Linked DNA regions of Homo sapiens: all the other regions are linked to region 7. Evidence: promoter capture Hi-C in 16 types of primary human blood cells and fetal thymus (Javierre and others, 2016). All regions are on one chromosome and are shown on one strand. The core of a region is centred on a gene start or on the middle of the fragment in contact, and the rest is flanking DNA. Distances in the headings are between cores, read along the strand shown.

The links. Contacts are between HindIII fragments. The CHiCAGO score rates a contact against its expected background, and 5 or more counts as called.
Region 1: a fragment that was not itself captured here is called in contact with the fragment with the promoter of DEFB134 in region 7 in 2 of 17 cell types (endothelial precursors and megakaryocytes); the score reaches 5.9 in endothelial precursors.
Region 2: a fragment that was not itself captured here is called in contact with the fragment with the promoter of DEFB134 in region 7 in 6 of 17 cell types (M2 macrophages, non-activated CD4 T cells, endothelial precursors and 3 more); the score reaches 6.7 in M2 macrophages.
Region 3: a fragment that was not itself captured here is called in contact with the fragment with the promoter of DEFB134 in region 7 in 4 of 17 cell types (monocytes, M1 macrophages, total CD4 T cells and 1 more); the score reaches 6.5 in monocytes.
Region 4: a fragment that was not itself captured here is called in contact with the fragment with the promoter of DEFB134 in region 7 in 4 of 17 cell types (M1 macrophages, erythroblasts, monocytes and 1 more); the score reaches 6.3 in M1 macrophages.
Region 5: a fragment that was not itself captured here is called in contact with the fragment with the promoter of DEFB134 in region 7 in 1 of 17 cell types (M2 macrophages); the score reaches 5.8 in M2 macrophages.
Region 6: a contact is called between a fragment that was not itself captured here and the fragment with the promoter of DEFB134 in region 7, in 2 of 17 cell types (erythroblasts and M2 macrophages). The highest score is 6.0, in erythroblasts.

Annotation. Positions count from the first base shown.
Region 1 is chr8:11,661,311-11,664,100 of GRCh38, forward strand. No RefSeq gene overlaps it. Among named protein-coding and RNA genes, the nearest start is that of GATA4, 41 kb to the right of the region's middle. The HindIII fragment of the contact is 736 bases long and covers 1,171-1,906 here.
Region 2 is chr8:11,598,438-11,601,605 of GRCh38, forward strand. No RefSeq gene overlaps it. Among named protein-coding and RNA genes, the nearest start is that of LINC00208, 23 kb to the left of the region's middle. RefSeq lists an enhancer at 1,001-1,837. The HindIII fragment of the contact is 6,914 bases long and covers 1-3,168 here.
Region 3 is chr8:11,528,420-11,531,470 of GRCh38, forward strand. The region is part of intron 1 of BLK (BLK proto-oncogene, Src family tyrosine kinase); the gene reads left to right. Among named protein-coding and RNA genes, the nearest start is that of BLK-AS1, 28 kb to the right of the region's middle. The HindIII fragment of the contact is 224 bases long and covers 1,656-1,879 here.
Region 4 is chr8:11,716,058-11,719,093 of GRCh38, forward strand. The region is part of intron 2 of GATA4 (GATA binding protein 4); the gene reads left to right. Among named protein-coding and RNA genes, the nearest start is that of SNORA99, 12 kb to the left of the region's middle. RefSeq lists an enhancer at 2,731-2,875 and a cis regulatory region at 2,797-2,810. The HindIII fragment of the contact is 2,161 bases long and covers 391-2,551 here.
Region 5 is chr8:11,691,107-11,694,133 of GRCh38, forward strand. It overlaps a transcript of GATA4 not described here. Among named protein-coding and RNA genes, the nearest start is that of GATA4, 12 kb to the right of the region's middle. The HindIII fragment of the contact is 1,417 bases long and covers 641-2,057 here.
Region 6 is chr8:11,619,407-11,622,620 of GRCh38, forward strand. No RefSeq gene overlaps it. Among named protein-coding and RNA genes, the nearest start is that of LINC00208, 44 kb to the left of the region's middle. RefSeq lists an enhancer at 1,460-1,960. The HindIII fragment of the contact is 4,298 bases long and covers 1-3,214 here.
Region 7 is chr8:11,999,458-12,002,561 of GRCh38, forward strand. DEFB134 (defensin beta 134) reads right to left here and starts at 1,295. Exons shown (of 3, transcript NM_001302695.2): 1 at 1,251-1,295. It overlaps LOC105379245 (a long non-coding RNA gene), which reads left to right and starts at 2,676. Exons shown (of 3, transcript XR_001745644.2): 1 at 2,676-2,750. It also overlaps the pseudogene OR7E160P and the pseudogene LOC100421446. The HindIII fragment of the contact is 7,293 bases long and covers 1-3,104 here.

The sequences.
Region 1 (2,790 bases), core at 289-2,788, 340 kb before region 7:
GGTATCCATCAAATCCTTCTCTGATTTACACAAATCTACACAAATACCTGATTCCCCCGATAAGGAAAAGTGTAAGTCAATACTGCTCAGTTGTAATTGGGTGTTACCTGCCCCGATACTGGACTTTTTATCTGCAGCTCCTTTTGCAGGCTCGCTCCAGCTTTATCTGCCTCTTAGGTGTGACCAAATTGTCGTGTGTGCGTGTGTGTGTGTGTGTGTGTGTGTGTGTGTGTGTGTGTTGGCTCCAAAGGTTTATTCACGAATAGATCCCAAAGAAATGTCACAGAGAAATAGTGACTTGAAGTCCAAAGAGGAAAAAAAGGGAGGCCGCAGGCACATGATGGATCTGTGCAATAGTCATACGTAAGCCGCCGTGATGTCCACACCACGGAGACCCCGTCTGCTATGCATCACCCATAGCACGGGCAGCCGAACCCCAGGGCTGCCCTGATAAGAGGCCGAAACGGTGGTAAATCATCCCACACCTCCATCCCACACCTCTGGACTCAGTTTCTCCATCTATGAAAGGGAAAATTCTGTCCACTGCCAGGTATTTATCATGAGGATAAATGAACTGCATTGCGCCAAGTGATCTTGGAACAGGAAGGCTGGTGGATTAAATAAAGATTTACAAAGAATTATGTCCAAATGATCCTTATTTATGATGTGCTTGGTGAGGGTAACAGATGAGAACTCGAAGAGACCCTGGGAGAACCTGCTTCCAGTGCCTCTTTTTCCAGATGGAAAAAAAAAAAAAAAAAACAAACACCAAAATTGAGGCCCAGAGAAAAGAAGGAACTTGCCCAAGATAAACTAACCCCTTCCCCACCTCCACCTTCCTTAGCTGGGTAAGGCAGGGCTCAGGAAAGACAAGTTTTGCTACAAGCTGTCCTCAAAGCTACCCTTCTAGCCCTGAAACGGGTGTGCTCAGAAAGAATTTTTAGCAATGCAAAGAAAAATTGTAGTAAAATGTTAAGGAACATAGCAGAATAAAAAAAAAATTGCTCACATCCTATGAACTGCAATAATTGTGTGTGTGGGGGGAAACAGTATTTCAAAACATGAAAATAGTTGTGTTTGGAAGTGGGTTTTATTTTCAAATTTTGTTTCTATTGTTATTGCTTTGTTACTGGTCTGTTACAAATTATTAACATTACATTCTGTTTGTAAAGCTTTTGTTTTCAAGCAATGCAGCAGTGAATAAAATGTTTTAAAAGAAAGAAAGAAAGAAAGAAAAGCACTGCCTTACTCCCACTACCCAACCCCCTAATCTCATTCTCCCAGAGTAACTATTTTTACATTTGCAGGGTCTTTCCAGACCTTTCTTGGATACAAATTTGAACCTAAATGTTTGAATTTCTGTGTTTTGTATGTAAAGGGGATGGTGGTGGTGGTGGTGGTAGTTCCCTGGTACTATTATTCAACAAACAAGAACAAACCGTTCTGTGACCCAAGCCATTCAAGGGAGGCGAATGCACTGTTAGCGCCACCAGGAAAACGTGGCTTGTGAGCTGGGTGAGAACAGAGTTCATTCACCTCCCTCAGGAGAGACTTTACTCCCAGAAAGACTGATTCAGGCCAGCTCCGGGTGGCCTGGCTCCTTCCCCCCCAGCCCACAAGGCCCCCAGGTTTATTGGCCTCATGGACTCAACTAGTACCATTGTAGTCAGAGGTCAGTTTAATGGGAGGTGGCTCTGAGACAGCAGCGAATTGGTGTATTTGAGTGACTTGACAAAAACGAATAATAAGACAAGAATTCTGGAGAGAGTAGGTAGAGCTGACATTATGTCCAATATATTGTAATGTGTGTGGATAATATTCCTGGGAAATTCACCACCCTTCAGACACCATCTTTGTAAAGCATTCACTTATCTTCAACCCTGGGTTGTCCTAGTGTGCTAATCCAAGCTTTGGAACAGGACGCTATCATAATGCCAGTAGCCCTGTGTAGGATCCCACCATTGACACAGCATCCCCATCAACACTTATCCCATCCCTTGATCCCAAAACACTTGGAGCAGGCTCTCCATATTGAGGGTTTCTAGCTTTAGCAGATAAAAATGCAGGATACCCAGTCACAAGTGAATTTCAGATAAACACCCAATTATGTTTCTTAACTAGTTAGTGTTGGTATGAAAGTTAATTTCTTCAGAAACTTCTTTTATAACCAGCTACCGTATAAAACTATCTTATGAGCTGGGGTACCAGCCAGGGACCAGTGAGGAGACAGAAACTATATCAGTATTTTTAACAGATAATATAATAAAAGGAATTGTTAACTAGGCATGGAAAAACCACTAAAGCAGAAAGATAATCCTAACGTATGATGAAGGTAGAGACTGCAGAGGCAGATATTACTTGTAAAGTTGGGCAATCAGAAGAAAAAGGTTGAAATTATTAACATTTAGACACTTGGAGGAGAGGCCCATGGGGCTGGAAACATATGTCTGAGGAGGGGGTGAGTGACAGACAGTACTGGCATCTCTGACAGCATCTTGAAGAGTTTGTTTCTGCAAGAATAAGAAAAACTGGGCTGGGCGTGGTGGCTCATACCTGTAATTCTAGCACTTTGGGAGGTGGAGATGGAGGGAACACTTGAGCTCAGGAGCTCCAGACCAGCCTGGCCAACATGGTGAAACCCCATCTTTACCAAAAATGCAAAAATTAGCTGGGCGTGGTGGCACATGCCTGTAATCTCAGCTACTCAGGAGGCTGAGGCAGGAAAATCAGTTGAAGCTAGGAGGCGGAGGTTACAGTGAGCAAGTATCGTACCACTGCACTCTAGCCTGG
Region 2 (3,168 bases), core at 36-2,535, 400 kb before region 7:
ACTCGAAGGCTGAGGCAGGAGAATCGCCTGAACCTGGTAGGTGGAGGTTGCAGTGAGCCAACATCTCTCCACTGCATGCGTGGGTGACAGAGCAAGACTCTGTCTTAAAAAAAAAAAAAAAAAAAAAAAAAAAGGAGATTAGGGTCTGGGTTTCATGGCTCAAGCCTGCAATTCCAGCATTTTGGAAGGCCAAGGCAGGCAGGTCACCTGAGGTCAGGTGTTCGAGACCAGCCTGGCCAACATGGTAAAACCCCATCTCTACTAAAAATACAAAAATTAGCTGTGCATGGTGGTACCTACTCGGGAGGCTGAGGTAGGATAATCGCTTGAACCTGGGAGTTGGAGGTCGCAGTGAGCTGAGATCAAGCCACTACACTCCAGCCTGGGTGACACGGCAAGACTCTGTCTCAAAAATAATAATAATAAAAGAAAAGGAGATTAGGCCACAGAAACACAGAGGGATGACCATGTGAGGACACAGCAAGAATGTGGCCATCCACAAACCCAGGGGAGAGGCCTCAGGAGAAACCAACCCTGCCGGCACCTTGAGCTTGGACTTCTAGCCTCCAGAACAGTGAGAAGATGAACGGCTGGTGTTGAAGCCACCTGGTCTGTGGGACTTTGTCATGGCAGCCTGAGCTGATTAATGCAGGTTTCATGCCAGCTTCAATTCAATTCAAGAAATGCAAATCTCCCAGCCACTGTCCTCTAGGCATTAGGCTGGATAGTGTGGATTCAAAGAGGAAACCCTGGAGGAGGGCGTGCTTGAATACAGGATCTGAAAAGCTGGAGGAGAGAATTCATTTGCACAGGCCTCAGAAGACATACAGAGTGTGGCCTGGTGAATTAGGAGGGACTGTCAAGGAATTCTCCTCAGAGGAGGTGAAATAGGAGCAAATTTCGAAGGCATATTAAGGTTTGGCCCACCAGTCAGGCAGAGAGGGGGGAAGGATCACAGAGCAAAGTGAGCCGTGGGTGCAGAGACTGCCTGTGAAAAGGCACAGCTGCGTGGGTGGAATGGGTGGTGGGAGGCTCAGAACTGCTCCCTCTGCTTGTGCTGCTGTAACAAAATACCATAGATTGGGTAATTTATAAAGAAGAGAAATGGATTCCTCACAGTTCTGGAGGCCGGAAGTCTGAGATGAAGGGGCCGACACTGGTGTCTAGAGAGGGCTGCTCTCTGCTTCCATGGTGGCGCCTTCCTGCTGCGAGCTTACCTGGCGCATGCTCACCTGGCACCTTCTCACCTGGCGGGAGGGGGAAAGGCCTCAGCTGGCCCCGGACTGCCCCTTGATGAGGCATGAATCATTCATAAGGGAGGAGCCCTCACAGCCTCATCACCTCCTGAGGCCCTCACCCCTTTATACTGCCACCGTGGGGATTAACTTTCAGCATGAATTTTGGAGGGGACACATTCAAACGACAGCACTCTCCAAACTTGGTTTCTCCATCTGTAAATGGGATAATAATATCTCAGGCAGTTGGCATAAGGGTCAGCTGAGACAACAGGGAAAGAAGAATGTTTATGGCAAAGCACTCCCAGAGATGACTTCAGATGAAGCCATCACAAGCCTTCTGATTTTTCATTCAACTCACCCACCTCCCACCTGTAACCCTTATTTGGCACAGGAGTCCATCAAACCAGGCCAGGCACAATTGTTTTTTGTTTGTTTGTTTGTTTGTTTTGAGATAGGGTCTCACTCTGTCATCCAGGCCGGAACACAGTGGTGTGGTCAGGGCTCACCACAGCCTTGGACTCGTGGGCTCATGCGATCCTCCCTCCTCGGCCTCCTGAGTAGCTGGGACTACAGGTGCACACCACCACACTCAGCTAATTTTTGTATTTTTTTGTAGAGACAAGGTTCCATGTTACCCAGTTGGTCTCAAATTCCTGGGCTCAAGCAATCTACCGGCCTTGGCCTCCCAAAATGCTGGGATTACATGCGGGAGCCCCCAATGGCCAGCCGGATTGTTTTTAATAAACTTTCTATTTTAGCATAGATTTAGATTTATGGAAAAGCTGCAAAGATAGTACAGAGAGTTCCCACATTCCTCCACGCAGTTTCCATCATTGTTAACATCTTACATTAGTATGTTAAACTTGTCAAATTAATGCACCAATACTATTATTGATACGTTACTACAAACTAAAGTCCATATTTTTTCAGATACTTAGTTGTCACCTAATGCCCTTTTTTTTCTTCCATGACCCTGGAGTATATGTCATCATCATGCCTCCTGAGGCTCCTCTTGGCTGTAACCGTTCTAGCCTGATTTTTGAATTCCAGGACACGGCATTTGCTAAGAAATGTACCTATGTATAGAAGTAGGAATGAGGGAACAGTTGGAGGATTTTTGGAGAAAAGCACATTATTTTTCAGCATTGTATCATTTGGCGAATCAACAACACGTGTTTGTTACAAATGAGACTATCTGTTCGCTGAAGGAGCCCTAAAGAGCCTGTGTTTATGATATTCTCAGTTCACTTTATCCTTTGCACTAAAAAATACTGATTTACATGTGTACATACACATAGACACACGCACACACACGCAATTTTAGAATTCACTCGTGTGATAGCCCCAGTCCTTCCCAATAGCCTGTCTCTGGCCCCAGGTGTTCTGTGTTCTCAGACTGTCTGAGCCCCTGTTCCTTGGAGGGTGAAAGGCTGCCTCCCTTGAGCCCAGAGGCCCAGGGTCAGTACACACTCAGCTGCATTCTCTCTGGGGCCCTCTGCCGTGGGCAGCACCGTACCCGATCCAGGCAGAACTGGACTCTTCCACTCTGAACCTCACGGCCTTGGAAGGGAGAGTGGGTGGGGGCTGTTCCTCAAAGGCTAGAGGGCATCACAGCAGCTCCTGCCTCCAGGCTGCAAAGGGGTCAGCTCCCAGGTTGCCTGCAAGAGTGGTGATAAAGGGACACACTCTCCTTGCTTTGCTTGGCCAGGACAGCACTTTTGTTTGGAACACTAGGTTCCGAGACTCTGTCCATCTGCAGGTTTTGCGTGTAAATGACGAGGAAAGAAAGCAGCAGAAGCCACATCTATGAGCCTGGAGCATCAGCAAAAAGCAGCTCCTGCCTCCTCCCCACCACCCCGGCTGGCACGAGGCCACGGCAATCACGGCGTCACACTCTTGCCTGCGTGTATTTCTTCCTTTTTTTTTTTTT
Region 3 (3,051 bases), core at 518-3,017, 470 kb before region 7:
TTGGAGGTCAGAAGCAAGATGGAGTCAGCCATGTCAGATTTCTCTTACTGTCATAATTTTGCAAAGGTAGTTTCAATCCCCCTCACACACACTTGGGCTTCAGCACCCCTCAATCCTGAGGTGTTAGCTACGGAGATGAGAAAAGGCTAATGATTGCTCTAACTTCTTCCTGCTGACAGGGGGCATATTTGGGGGAGGGGTTGACCCCAGGGTAAAAGGAGTGGAAGTGTCTTGCAGTTGCCTGTATGTATTCAAGTGCAACTTGTTGGGGTCCAACATGTGTATAACGAAAACATTGGTGCTCTTATCCACAGATTTAGTACAGCATTTAAGAAGAAAAATAATGAGCCGTAAAAAGGAACGAGATTATGTCCTTTGCATGGAAGTGGATGGAGGTGGAAGGCATTATCCTCAGCAAACTAACGCAGGAACATAAAACCAAACACTGTATGTTCTCAATTATAAGTGGGAGCTGAACGGTGAGAACATATGGACACACAGAGGGGAATAACACACACTGGGGCCTATTGGGGAGCGGGAAGGAGAGCATCAGGAAAAATAGCTAATGGATGCTGGACCGAATACTTAGGTGATGGGTTGATAGGTGCAGCAAACCACCATAGCACACGTTTACATATGTAACAAACCTGCACATTCTGCACACGTACCCCATAACTTAAAATTTAAAATAATAGTAATAATAATAATTAGCCCTAATATAAGGAGTGAAAGTGTAAATCGCCCAGTGGGTTCACCTTGCCCGCTGCCTAGACAAAGCCAATTTATCAAGACAGAGGAATTGCAAAAGAGAAAGAGTAATTCACACAGAGCCAGCTGTGTGGAAGACCGGAGTCTTATTATTACTCAAATCAGCCTCCTTGAGCATTCGGCGATCAGAGTTTTTAAGAATAATTTGGTGGGTGGAGGAAGCCAGTGAGTCGAGAGTGCTGATTGGTTGGGTCAGAGATGAAATCACAGGGAGTCAAAGCTGTCTTCCTGCGCTGAGTCAATTCCTGGGTGGGAGCCACAGATCAGATGAGCTGGTTTCTTGATCTGGGTGGTGCCAGCTGATCCATCAAGTGCCAGGTCTGCAAAATATCTCAAGCGCTGATCTTAGGAGCAGTTTGGGGGGTGGGAGATCAGAATCTTGTAGCCTCCAGCTGCATGACTCCTAAATCATAATTTCTAATCCTGTGGCTAATTTGTTAGTCCTACAAAGGCATCTAGTTCCCAGGAAAGAAGGAGGGTTCTTCTGGAATGCGCTGTTATTGTCTTCATTTTTAACTACAAACTATAAATTAACTTCTTCCCAAAATTAGTTCAGCCTATGCCCAGGAATGACCAAGGACAGCTTGGAGGTTAGAAGCAAGATGCAGTTGGTTAGGTTAGATCTCTTTCACTGTCTCAGTTGTAATTTTGCAGCGGCAGTTTCAAAAGTCCTAGCTTCAGGAGTCCCTGTAGAACTGACCTGAAGCCTCAAGGAATCCAGGTGAATAACCCCAAAAATCAACCAAATATGGGGTCATCAGCAGAAGCTCAAGAACAATGGATGAGGCTGGAATCTAATAACAGGTGTGCTGTAGCTGTTTTGAAACATAATTTTTCTCTCTCCAGTTTATTTTTACTAAAGACAAGACCAATTTATTTGCAAAATAAGCTTGCCTTATTATACTTTGCCTAATTATTTACATAAAGTGCAGCAAGAATAATTATTGGCCATATAGGCTCTTTTTTTCTAACTGGCTTTGCTGGAATTTTTTTCATAAGGAATCTCAGATTAGACCTTTTAAAAGTCTCTTGAGCCCAGCCAAGGATTTATTTGTGCCTGCAGATACTTGTATGAATTGGGTGAATTCCTTTCTTCTTGAGGTCCCAACAAAGCTTGGAGTTCCTGGGCCTGTCAGAAAGTGACATTCTTTATTTGCCACAGGTCGGGAATCCTGTACAGGACAAGGTAGGAGGTCAGTTCCTCCAAGGGGCTTTCATCATCTCTGTAGGTCAGCCTCGATTTCTTAAAGCAGTCTGAAAATATGTCATTTCAGTCAAAGCCTTGGTAAAATAAGCAGTGTCTCCAACTGTGTCTTGCTACAAAAGAAAACACATTCTTATTGAACTTACTCAAGTAACTATATTGCCTTATGTTAAAAATACTCACAAATAATTTCCAAATTCTGGAGAAGGCAGGTAAAGAGAAAGAAATATGCTCTAAATTTTGTTTACAGGAGTATATTTTGCTCAATTGTTAAAAGTTGTAAATAGCTCAGTAGAAGTTTTCTTTACTCTGAAAAACAAAACAAAAAGAATCAGCAACAATTTTAAGTGAAAAGTCGAAAAGATTTTTCCAGTTACTGAATGTTTTGGTTGTTTCCAGCTGGGAGCTAATTAATATGAGTAACAATGCTAAGAACATATATGTCAAGTCTTTCTGTGGTCATATGTTTTTATTTCTCTTTGATAAGCAACAAGAAGTGAAATATCTGGGTCACAGGTTAAGAAGCTCCCAAATTGTTTCCTAAAGTTGTTTCGTTTCACCTTACCATCAGCCTCAGGTGAGCATTCTAGTTTCTCCATATGCTTGCCAACACTTGGTATGATCGGTCATCTAATTTTAGCATCTGGGTGGTTGTGTGGTGGCATTTCACTGTGGTTTTAGTTGCCATTCCCCTAATGACTGACGACACCGAACACCTGTTCATGGGTTTGTGTGCTGCTCAGCTGTCTTCTCTGTTCAACTGTTTGTTAAATTGAATTTTTGGCTTCTTTTATAGAGTTTAAAAGTTAATTATATATTCTCATATAGATACATGTTTTTCAAAAATGTCCTGCCTGTCTCTGATTTAGCTATTTCTTTTCTTAATGGTGTTTTTAAAGTGCAGAAGTTCTTAATTTTGAAAAGTCTAATTTATCAATTTTTCTTGTATACTTTATGATCTTCTATTCTAAGGGAATAATCTATTCTAAGGGAATAGAAGGTCACGTTTGTATGCTTCTGACTCATATTCTTTATATCCTTTGTGACACCAAGGTCACAAAGATTTCCTTCTAGGTTTT
Region 4 (3,036 bases), core at 221-2,720, 280 kb before region 7:
TAAAGCTGAATAATGTTCCATTGTATGTGTAGACCACGTTTTGTTTATCCATTCATCCATGGATGGACACCTGAGTTGCTTCTCCGTCTTGGCTACTGTGAATAATGCTGCTATGAACATGGGTATGCAAATGAAACCTTTTGAATTTGGAGAATGTGACTATATTACCTAATTTTAAAAACATATTAAACTAATTAAGTTTTAAAAAACAGATACATGATATTCATGAATCAACCTGAAAGTAGCATCTTTTTCTTTTTTTTTTAAAGAAGATTCTCTATTTAGTGTTTATGGATGCACAGGAAAACTGCTTTAAGGCATAAGTTGTTTTTTATTAAATTTGTCTTTTACCTATTCTTTTACAATTTTGGGGGTTTTCCTTTATGCTCAAGCTTCCTCAAGATTCTTCAAGGCAGATCAAAACCATCCTCAGTGGCAATCCTGTATTTGGCTTTTGATTTTGCTTATTTCACAGGAGGTTGCTTTACTGAGAGGGGGAAATCTCTACTCCTGGTCTCAGTGCTGGTAGTGGATCTAAATCAGCAATGGGCGGACACCCCAGCCCCACACTACTGTGGCTTCCCCACTTGTGGGCACAAACAGTCACGTACTAGGCAATGGTGACCTCTCCAGGTAGGCAGTTTTCCCTCAGGTTATATTGGAGTTAGAACCTGCCTGAAAACCACTAACCGGCTGCAGCGGTGGGATTGTGTGAAGAACAAGTTACCTTCCTCCAGGGCAAGGTGATTCTTTTAAACAAATTTTAAGACAATTTAGTTGTACTGAATTTAGAGCTGAAGCCAGTTGCAAATGTAGCTGCTTGTGTCTGCATAAGAAAGAGGAAGTATGCTAGTTTTCCTTTCCTTGTTCCAGAAGAGGGCAGTTCTTGCCAACGCGAGCTGCTGCTTTAAGAACTTGAAGCAACTTTTCTGACATCTGAAACTATTTGTCTTTTGGGAACTTATTTGTCCTAGCCTGCCTGCAGAACCAGCTGTTAAGGCTCTGTTGGGAAGGAGTATCGCTCTGCTATATTGACCTCTGGTAGACCATGACATGGCCCCATATGCCATACAACATAAACTGGTTACTAAGAGTAATTTAATGGCTATCTCTAGAGCTACTCTTTTGTTACCTTCTAAAGAAGGCAGGGAAGAAAATATAAATGGGGTTATAATAGGAATAATCTTGAATCTGTTTTAATTTATACAAAATACATTTATAAGTTTTGGCACATTCACGTTTGGATACTGGCTAACAACTTTTTAGCGAGAGTAGCCTGTATCTTGCATGTCATTCCATTGAACAGTAAGGTGGATCCCTGTCAATGAAGAAATCATCTGATGCCAGGGACTTTGAAGTCTTTCTCCAAGAGGTAGATACGATGATCTCTGTTTTGCTGGAAAGAAAGCTGATACCCAGAAAGAGCCTGTAATCTCAGGTCCCCGTGGGTAGTAAACAGCCCTGGTTTGGAACCCAGGTAAGTCCAACCTGCAGGATTGTACTTTCCCCCTTTCCCCACACTTTGTATTTGCCAAATCTGATATGAGGGCACTTGGCTCTTCAGAACCAGAAGCTATGTGTGATTGAAGGGCTCTATTAAACCTTAGGATTTTCCATGACTTGTCGCTCCCATCCGCTTCCTCTCCCCAGGGTAGCTTCTTGTCTGAGTTTCCGTTTGCTTCCCACCAATCACTGTCTCTCTAGGAGCAATGTCGTCCTACGGAATCTTCCGTATCATTCCTCAACTGTAAGCTCTGCAGTTCAGGAATGCAATGTTAGGAATCCCAGTGTTGCACAAACTTCCTTTCTAGCCGTTGGATTCTGGTGTGCAGAGAACTAAAGAGACTTCCCAGGATTCAGACCCTTCCAATGGGAGGATTCTCCTAACTCTAGGGGAACTGTTGGCTGCTTAAGAGCAAAACCATATGGCTCACTCAAAAATCCCTTTCCTAAGAGAAATCTATAACTGACCCTCTGTGTTCCCTTTTCTCTGAAGATTTCAAATATATTTGTGGTAAAAGCAGAGAAAGAAGAGGAGAAAATCATAATAAAAGCACAATAATGATGATTTTAGTAAAGATAAGAATGGGGCATGGATCAAGACAATGACTAAAACCCCAGGCAGGAAAAGCCCCGTGGAATTGGTCTGAACTGAATGTAGCAGCCCATCAGTGGAAGTTTTCTTGTTTCTGGCAGGTGGCCTATGCTTTTATCTATTACTGCTCTGTAATCAGAATTGAGCCACGATATTCAAGTTTCTTATCTGAATGATGGGAATTTGGTTTTCTGGCCTTCTGCATTTTGCAGGAGCCCAAGAATTGACCTGATGTTTTAAAATATATTTTCCCTCCAAAGGAGGAGTAAAATCCAGACAGGTGGGCCATTCTGTGTGTTTAAAGTCATTGAAAAGCCTCTGCAAGTAAAATTTGAGGCTGTCTGTAACCCACATTGAATAGTTACAGATATATTTTATTTTGGAGGATAAAAAATCAAGAAGTTACTACCACAATTTGGTGGGAATTTTGAATTTTGGAGTTTTCCTTTGTACTCAAGCTTCCTCACGATTCTTCCAGGCAGATCAAAGCCATGGGTTTTGGGATCCCCTAATCGCAAATCCAGTTTTGCTTCTTAAAATCTAATCAGTCCTTAAGTTATTTTTTAAATCTTCCTTTCTACTCCCCAGTTGAAATCTCCATTTCTACTTCTAGAAATCCAGTCAAACCTTATCGCCTCCATTTAGAACTGATCGATAGCAACTGGTGAGCAGGTTAATTATAATCGCAGAATAAACGCTGAAGTCTCAAAGTTCACCACTTTTGCAATGTTTCCAAACCCCTCGGGACCATGCCAGGAGGCGCTCATTGACCCATTCCGAGCAGGTGTGGGAGTTTGAACCAGGGGCAGACAATCAGATCTGATTCAAACAACTCAATTTGGTTGCTTATCTAGAGGTTTTCCTATCTTATGATATCTGTCATTTTAGATAAAAAAGAGTTCATCAATTGAGCTGGGAAATGGCAAAGTTACATTTTATTC
Region 5 (3,027 bases), core at 99-2,598, 310 kb before region 7:
AGCATACTTGGCGCTGTGCCTGGCATATAGCAATGTCCAGTGTTACTCAGTAAATGTTTGCCTAGTAAATGGATCCCAGTTTTCATCTGCAATCCAAGCCTTTTATTTTGCATATTCAGATGGGCCTCCCATTTTTAGTTCCTCACTGAACATATTCATTATGAATGGCTAAGATTGAGTTCAGACTTAGGATCCTGGTGTTCCCACCCTAAGAGATAAGGCCTCACTCTGTTGCCCAGGCTGGCGTGCAGTGGTGCCATCACTGCTCACTGCAGCCTCAACCTCCCAGGTTCAAATGATCTTCCCACCTCAGTCCTCCTGGTAACTGGGACTACAGGCACGTGCCACCACAACCCGCTATGTTTTTCTATTCCTTATTAAAGATGAGGTTTCTCCATGTTGTCCAGGCTGGATTTCGAGAGCTTAAAGTCACAAAATGTTGGGATAGGAAGGAACCTGGGAGACAGTTTAGTAGTCTCTTCATTTTATGGACAGAAAACTAAGGCTTAGAAAGTTAAGTGACTCGCCTGTGGGCATGGCAGTCCTCTGGTGGCAGTCGTGGGATTAGAATCCGGGAATCCTGACTCCCAGACCAAGGAGCTCCCTCCAGCCTCAACTAGATCCAGATCCTCGAGGCCTAAGCTTCGCTCTACACTGACACTCAGGCCACAGCAACCTGGGGTCCCTCCCTCCTCTTTCTATGGCGCCCCAAACAAAAGACTACCTGTTTCCCAGTACTTAAGGCACATCTAAGGAAGAATTTAGGACCTTTCCCAGTCCAGGGCTAGCTCTCAACTCAAAGAGGGAAGAAAAAAAAAAAATCAAAAACCACTTCAGACCATAAATGCTCCATGTTGCTTACAATGTTGACTTTCTCCTTTAATTCTCATTCAGGGAGACTGCTTCGCAGGGGATCTGTTCATGATCCTCACCTTAGTGTCACCAACAGAGGTGGCCGTGGGTGCTTTCCGTAGAAAGGGAAGGTGACAGGTGAGGCAGGCAGGAGCTCGGGCCACCTGTTCTCCAGCCTAATGGCCTCAGGTAACAGCCCAGCAGCCTCACTCCTACTTCCCCAAAGGCAAGAGAAGAAAAACGAGGCAACAACCAGAGGGAGGAAGGTGGAACTGGGGGAAACTGAGCGCAGGGGTGGAGAATGAACTAAGCTCCATCACACCTTTTCAAGCACAGCAATGACAGTGTGTGCTGTTATAAAAGAACACTTGCTCCATGAGAACATTAGAAACGTACAAAAAATTTCACGCAAGACCTCGCCGTCTTTATACGCAGGTGTATTTACGTTGATTTCTCTACCTATCTTATCTATCACTATATAATTCGAATGAACCCTAATAGAATATTGACCGGTGTCCTGAATTTTCTCCTCCCGTGCACAGCGTGAGTAATTCCCGTGAAACTATGCTCATGCGGATCTAGATTGAATCTGATCCTTCGGGCCGCGGCGGCTCCGCCTGGGAGGGCGTGGCCCCCGCGCTGGGGCGGGAACCGGCTTCTGGGGACCCGCGGCCTCTGCGCCTCAGCCGACCTCCACCGCGGGTGCGTGCGGGGGTGCGGGGGTGAGGGGTGCGGGGCTGCTCCGTCGGGAGGCTGGGAGGGAGAGCAGGCGCCGGGACCCACGCGAGGGCGCGGACGGACGGGGGGCGGGAAGCGAGGCTGCCGAGGGGAGGAAGCGGGGCCGGCGCAGCGGGCGCCAGGCCGGGCAGAGGCGGGGGCGGCCGGCCGGGGGCTGACCCCGAGCGCCGCCGAGTTTGCGCCGCCCGCCGCCCCGCGCTCGCCTCCAGCCGCCTGGGGTTCCGCGGCGGCCGTCAGCGCGCACCTCATCAATAAGGCCTGCCAGGCGCCGGCCCCGCGGCCATCCATCACCCGGGCTGCACCCCCGGCCGCGCACCGAGGCTTCTGCCAGCGCCTGCGGGGCCTCTGCGTGGAGTGGGCCGGCAGCGTTTTTCTACCCGGCAACAAATACATGGCTTTATTCCACTTCTTAATCCCAGTGTCTGTTAACGATGTGGTGTTCATTTGTTCCTAAAGAGCTGTAAGGAAGCTTAGAAATGATTCGGCAAGCTGGGCGCGGTGGCGCATATTTGTAATCCCAGCACTTAGTGAGGCAGAGGCGGCAGGATCGCTTGAGCCCAGCAGATAGAGACCAGCCTGGGCACCATGGCGAAACTCCATCTCTACGAAAAAATAAAATTAGCCAGGCGTCGTGGCGCGCGCCTGTGGTCCTGCTGGGGAGGCTGAGGTGGGAAGATGTGAGCCTGGGGAGGTAGAGGCTGCAGTGAGCTGAGATCGCACCACTGCAGTCCAGCCTGGTGACAGAGTGAGACCCTGTGGAGAAAGAGAGAAAGGGAGAAAGAAGAGAGAGAGAGAGAGAGAAAAAAAGAGGATTGATTCAGCACAAACACACACACACACACACACACACACACACACACACACACAGAGAGAGAGAGAGAGAGAGAGAGAGAGAGAGACAGAGGATTGATTCAGCACAACCGGTGCATTTCACAGATGAGGAGACCGAGGGCCAGAGTGGGCGGCTGGCGTGCCTGAGGCCACACCAGGAGGAGGTGATGGAAACTATACTGGGGCCTGCATCTCTTGCCCTACCCCCACTCCCAGCCCTTGTGCCCTCCAAATGGGCACTCCGCAGGTCCAGGATCGATATGAGTGTTTGGCATCGAATGTGTGAAAAGGGCCAAGTCATAGGTTATGGGTGTGGGTGTCAGTGCATGAACAGCACAGAGTCCGCAGGCATTCTGTCCCCCAACTCAGGCCACAGCCTGTGTGTGCGTCTGTGTGCATGTGTGTGCATGTGTGTGTGTGTTGAGGTCCAGAAAGAGTACTAGGTAAAAGAGAGGGGGGAACACCTCTACATTAAAAGCAATGTGTTCCTTGAATTCATTTAGGTCGTCTCCCACCTGCCCTTTTCCCCAAGGAGGTGCCGTGGGTCCCCCTTCCTGCTCGTGTCTGCCAGCGCTCACTCCTGCTCCTGTCTGCAGGACGCTTTTG
Region 6 (3,214 bases), core at 307-2,806, 380 kb before region 7:
AGAGCGTTGGATATTTTATTCATGTTTCTTTAAGGTGAAGAAATAGAAGAGAGTTTTTACATAAATAAATCTGTAAATTGAAGCCAGATGGTCCTCACTGTTATATATTTAGCTGTCATATAGCCTACACCTTCACACGCAGACATTATGAACTCTCTCTTTTTTTTTTTTTTTTTTGAGATGGACTCTCACTCTGTCACCCAGGCTGGAGTGCAGTGGCATGATCTCGGCTCACTGCAACTTCTGCCTCTTAGGTTCAAGCGATTCTTCTGCCTCAGCCTCCTGAGTAGCTGGGATTACAGGCATGCACCACCATGCCTGACTAATTTTTGTATTTTTAGTAGAGACGGGGGGTTTCACCATATTGCCCAGGCTGGTCTTGAACTCCTGACCTCAAGTGATCTACCCATCTAGGCCTCCCGAAGCGTTGGGATTACAGGCATGAGCCACCATGCCCAGCCGTATGGCATTTCTTGAAAGAAATTTGTGAGCTTTTGTATGGTGGTACTGCCTGGCTGCCAGCAGCTTGCCTCTGGCCATGGCTCCCACTGTCTCTGCCTGTTTACCAGGCTTATTAATGCAATTATTTCTATTATATTAGCACATTTTCCTTCACTATGTTATCCAACTAAGTAGAAAACAAAAATAAAAGCACCGATACTAGTGATGGGAAGGATTAGGTCTCAGGAACTTAATTCAATAGAGACAAGAAGACACAAGTGGCAGATCAGCTTCAAGCTGAAGTGTGTGAATCACCTTGGCTGGTCGATTGTGTTCACCTGTGAAGGAAAATCAGAGGAAAGGCACAAAATCAGAGACCAGCACGATGAGAGGACAAGTACAAAAGGATATCATCAAACATTAAGTTTAAAAGTAAGTTGTAATTGGAGCATTTATAGTATTGTTTTTAGTTCTTAGAGAATAGAATCTCTTTATAATATATAAATCTATTGCCTAGCTTAGCACATTTGAAACTGTCTTAGTGTGTGTGTGTGTGTGTGTGTGTGTGTGTGTGTGTATTTAACTTAATGAATTTGGAGGGAGAACGTGGATAAGACGAGGAGATTGTCAGTCTCCTCGATGCCTGAAAGTGAGCCAGGATCAGCGTCCCACCCAGGCAGCCGCTGAGCCCATGAAAACCCACAGAGAAAGCTGCCAGTCCAGAATGTTCTTAGGATCCTCTGACACCTGTGTATGAGGCCCTGTTCCCTCCTCTTGCTTCCTGGACCATCTGCTTCCCCAGAGGACGGCTCCCGGGGCTGCTTCTGGAGGGGGCTTCTCTTGCTTGTCGAGGCCCCACTCCTGTGCCCAGCCCGGTATCCCTGTTCTCCGTGTCTGCCAGGAAATCGGGGAGTGGTGAGGTCTGACCACAATAGGCAGCCTGGCTTTTCCTACCCTGCCTGGTTCCCATGCCCTCCCTCCCCTATTTCATCCTCTCCCAGACTTCTTGAGGCTCAGGAGAAGACAGAGGGCTCACACACCTCTGGTGAAGTCAATGAAACGCTCACAATATTCCAACTGTGTTCCCCAAGTCACTGGAGCGGAAAGCCTGGGAGCCATCCTCACCGCCCTGGAGCCTCACGTCTGACCTCCAGCCACCTCCTGTCAATTTTCCGTCCAAAGCCCCCGAGAAATCCCCACTGCTGCTGCCCTGGCTCAGACCATCACTGCAGCTCCTCTGGGCTATTTCAACAGCCCCTGCTACTCTTTCAGCCCCAATTTGCCTCTCTCTGCTTCATTCTTCCCACTGTTGCCTAAGGGATCTTTCCGGAATGCCACTCCATCACCTCAAATCCTGATGAAAACACTTCAGGGCTTCTTACTGTCAAGCTCCAGCCTCAGCATTCCCAGCCCACCTGCCTCTCCAGCCTTACTTTCTCCTCTCCTCCCCACCAAGCCCAAGCGGAAGCCACAGGAGGCCATCAGCAAGTTTACCCACAGTGTCTAGAATGCCCCTGCTCCTTGGGGGCGTTCACACCCTTACATGTCAGATCCGCCTTGCTGCTATTCCTCCTCCGTTTCCCCAAGAGGAATTAATTCCTCCTTCCTATGCTTCCACAACACTCGAAAACTATCTATTCTCCCTTTAACACACCTGTGCTGTAGTGATGACTCTCGTCTCTCTTCTTTATGGTAATCTTCTCAAGGAAACACCATCTTCCATCTCCAGCTGCAGGGCCTGGTCCAGCCTTGGCACAGAGTTGGCACTTAGTAAATATCTATTGAATTTATTTAATTAGACTGAAAATATGTAGCCCTTAACTATGTATGGTTTACTATGAAAAAAGTGGTTACATAACTGTTTACGGAGAATCAAAGATATGCTTCTAAATACCAAAACAAAGAGTTTGATTTTAAAATAATGTATCAGCAGCGAGGTGGGGTGCCACACAATCAATGCATGTTCAGCAAACATATGCAGAACTGGAGGGACTCTCCCATAAACAGAGGACTCCCTCTTTATGGGACCATCTGCTAATCCTCATTCCAGACACCTCAACCTTCTCAGTCAGAACAGGAGACAAAATTATTGGCATGGGAAGGAGTGGGAATTAGCATCCCTTCTCTGTGTAATCCAGAAATTAAGGGTAGTAGCAATAGCTATGGTTTCCTAAATATCTTCTGCATGCCAGATGCATCTAATAATTCATATCTAATCTAATATCTAATAATGACCACACACTGTGGTTATAGTAGCCTCTCCTCACTTCTTCTTCTTCTTCTTTTTTTTTTGACATGGATTATCATTCTGTCACCCAGGCTAGAGTGCAGTGGCATGATCTTGGCTCGCTACAAACTCCACCTCCCAGGTTCAAGTGATTCTCATACCTCAGCCTCCTGAGTAGCTGGGATTACAGGTGCTCACCAACACACCCAGCTAATTTTTGTCTTTTTAGACTTTCCACGCATGTCAAGGCTGTCTCCCTGCCCCTTTCAGCCCTCCTATGCTCCCCATCTCTACCCTGCCACCCCCTCACTGCCAACAGCTGAGGCTAATTTCATCACTCTTCTCCAGCCATTTTGCTTATCGTTGACTCCAAGCTCCTAAGCATTTCTTGGCTTCCCCCAGGTGCCCTGTTTTTGAATTAACCTGAGATTATGGCAGACCACAAGGGCTGCATCACACCAAGTTCTCCCCAAGATTTGCCATATTTCCTCTACCACCAGGTGGGGTTCAAAGTAGGGTGCTCTCACTGATGACCCAAGACTCTTG
Region 7 (3,104 bases), core at 45-2,544:
CCAAGCAAAAATAATGTTGCTTACAAAGCCAAAGTTAAAAAACCCCAAGACCATTACAGTGCCAAATTCTTTTCCCCAGAACGGACTATTACTATCATTCTCCCACTATTGATAAGGAGCTCGTTCACTGACTAGGTCACCAACTACCAGCAATTCGTGATTTTACTTAAATATCAGAACAGGACAGCCTCTGAGTTTTGCTCTAAAAGGTAAAGAAGAATTTCAGCAACTGTCAGAGATCGTCTCTTGTTATCTAGACCTCCCCTGGCTCAGCGTCTGGTTCACTGTAGGTGCCACGAGTTGGGAGCTGACCTAGTTCATAGACTTTAGAGATAAAGAGGGGAGATGTGCGCATCATTTGAAAACAAGTATGTGGCTTACCAGCACACCAGCTTTTTCTTTTCATCCATATATTCCCCTAAGGCCACATGGTGCTCTGGGATTAGAAAATGGAGAAGTACAATATGCTCCACGCTAGGACTAGATGGCTCTTTCTTCTGCCTCCTGGGTTTGGTATTTCTTTAGGGTCATCATGCTACTCTTCTCATCTTCCTGATCTGTGGTTGTTCTGCAACTGCCATACTCTCAGCTGCAATTGAAATGTCCCTGTCTGACCCTGAGCCATACAGATTCAATATGCAGCCTTTCCAAATGACAATCCTAATAAACAGAAATGTATTCTAGCCAACAGTGGGAGATGCAGAAGGAAGCAGCTTCTGTATCCTCTGTGAAGAGATGGTCCTCTTTCCCATTACAAATTTTACAGCACCCATTCCTTTTTTTTTCATAGCACTTGTCACAATTGTTACTATATCAATTATTTGTGTCTCTGATTAGACTGTGAAATCCGAGTAGATTCCATGACTGTCTTATTTATCATTTTACACCAGTATTGGGCTGAAAGTCTAGCAGGCCATCAGTGCCAAAGGTATATTTGTTGAATAAATAAATGAACTCTAGATATTAGGTTTATACTTTAACTTTACAATATATAGTAGTTATTCCTTATTCATGGGGCTATGTTCCAAGACCCCCAGTAGATGCTTGAAACAGTCGATAATACTGAACTCTATATATACAGTGCTTTTTTTCTATACATGCAGACCTATGATAAAGTTAAATTTATAAATTTGGCACAGTAAGATTTTAATAACAATAACTAATAATAAAACAATTATAACAATATGCTATCATAACAATACTATAAAAGTTATGTGAATGTGAACTCTGTCTCCCCCAAAATATCTTACTGTGCTATGCTCACTCTTCTTCTTGTGCTGATGTAAGATGATATAATGCCTATGTGATGAGAGGAAGTGAGGAAAACGACATAGGCATTGTGACATAGCATTAGGCTATTGCTAATCTTCTGACCATAGCTCAGAAGGGGGATCATCTCCTTCGGGTGATGCTGGGTCACTGAGCCATGGTGATGTTAGTGGCTGGATCTCAGAAGCATATGATTTCAATAACTAATGGGCAGGTAGTGTTTACAGTGTGGATACACTGGACAAAGGGATGATTCACATTCTGGGTGTGTGGAGCTGCGTAGTGCAAGATTTTGTGTTACTCAGAACAGCATGCAATTTAAAACTTATGAATTGTTTATTTATGGAATTTTGTGTTTATTTATTTATTTATTTTGAGATGGAGGCTTGCTCTGTCACCCAGGCTGGAGTGCAGTGGCGTGATCTTGGCTCACTGCAACCTCTGCCTCCCAGGTTCAAGTGATTCTCCTGCCTCAGCCTCCTGAGTAGCTGAGATTACAGGCACCTGCCACCACACCTGGCTGATTTTAGTATTTTTAGTAGAGACGGGGTTTCACCATGTTGGCCAGGCTGGTCTCGAACCCCTGCCCTCAGGTGATCCACCCACCTTGGTCTCCCAAAGCGCTGGGATTACAGGCATGAGCCACTGCACCCAGCGTATTTAATATTTTGGACTGTGGTTGACTGTAAGTAACTAGAACTGTGGCTGGGTGGGGAACTACTGCAGATATATTCCTAACAGCTGGTATTTGGAGCACTTTTAGGCATCAAGGATTGTAGTATGTATTTTTTTTAATATTGCCTCACTTAATCTTACAAATGATCTCTTAACTAGACATTTTCACAATTCACATTTTCAAGATGTTGAAGCAGAGATTTGAGTAATTCTTCTAAAATCACACATCTGGGACTGATAAGTCTTACAGAGATTCTAGAACCCAAATTAATTAACCACTCTTCTATATTGTCTCCTGGGACAAAGGGGTTCTGAAATATAGCAAAAATTCTACTTTGAATCTAGTCTGGGCCAGCCAGGAAGAATTAGTAGATGCCAGGGCCTGGGGAGCTAGAACCTATGGTAAGGAAGTGACACTGAAAAAGCTAAAGAATCTTTCTTTCTTTCTCTCTCTCTTTCTTTTTCTTTCTTTCTTTCTCTCTCTCTTTCTTTTTCTTTCTCTTTCTTTCTTTCTTTCTTTCTTTCTTTCTTTCTTTCTTTCTTTCTTTCTTTCTTTCTTTCTCTCTCTCTCTCTCTTTCTTTTCTTTCTTTCTTTTCTTTCACAGACGTCTTGGGACGCAAAGGGCCAAGGCATCAGAAACACTTGGTACCAGCTTCCACAGCAACAATGAGAGGTAACCCCAGTGCTTCCACTACCAACAGGACATTACCACTTGCAGGCAGAGAAACAGACAAGAAAAATAGTGGATGCCACATATTAGGACTCGTCTGAGACATGATGCAAGACTTTTTAGAAAGAATTTGAGGTGAGATGAGGCTGGGCTCTCTGAAGTAGTTCAAGAGAAATACTATTTTGTGGCCCTTATTGGGACTTACTTATAACCTAAGGACCTAGGATGATGCTTGAGTAGCAGGACCAACCAATGTACCAAAGAATGGGCCTCACCCAAAGAGCTTTACAAATTTTATTAAAAATAAGAATGAGACAGAACTCAGCAGTTGTACCTAGATTAGTGACAGAAGATCAGATGAGAATGAAGATGTTTTAGTAGGTTAACATAATAAACGCTCTCCGAGATACCTCATCACTGCTTACCTCTTTTGGAACTTAAAAATAACTTGGAGAAGATATGATCAACTATGAATTGACTAAGTTTCAG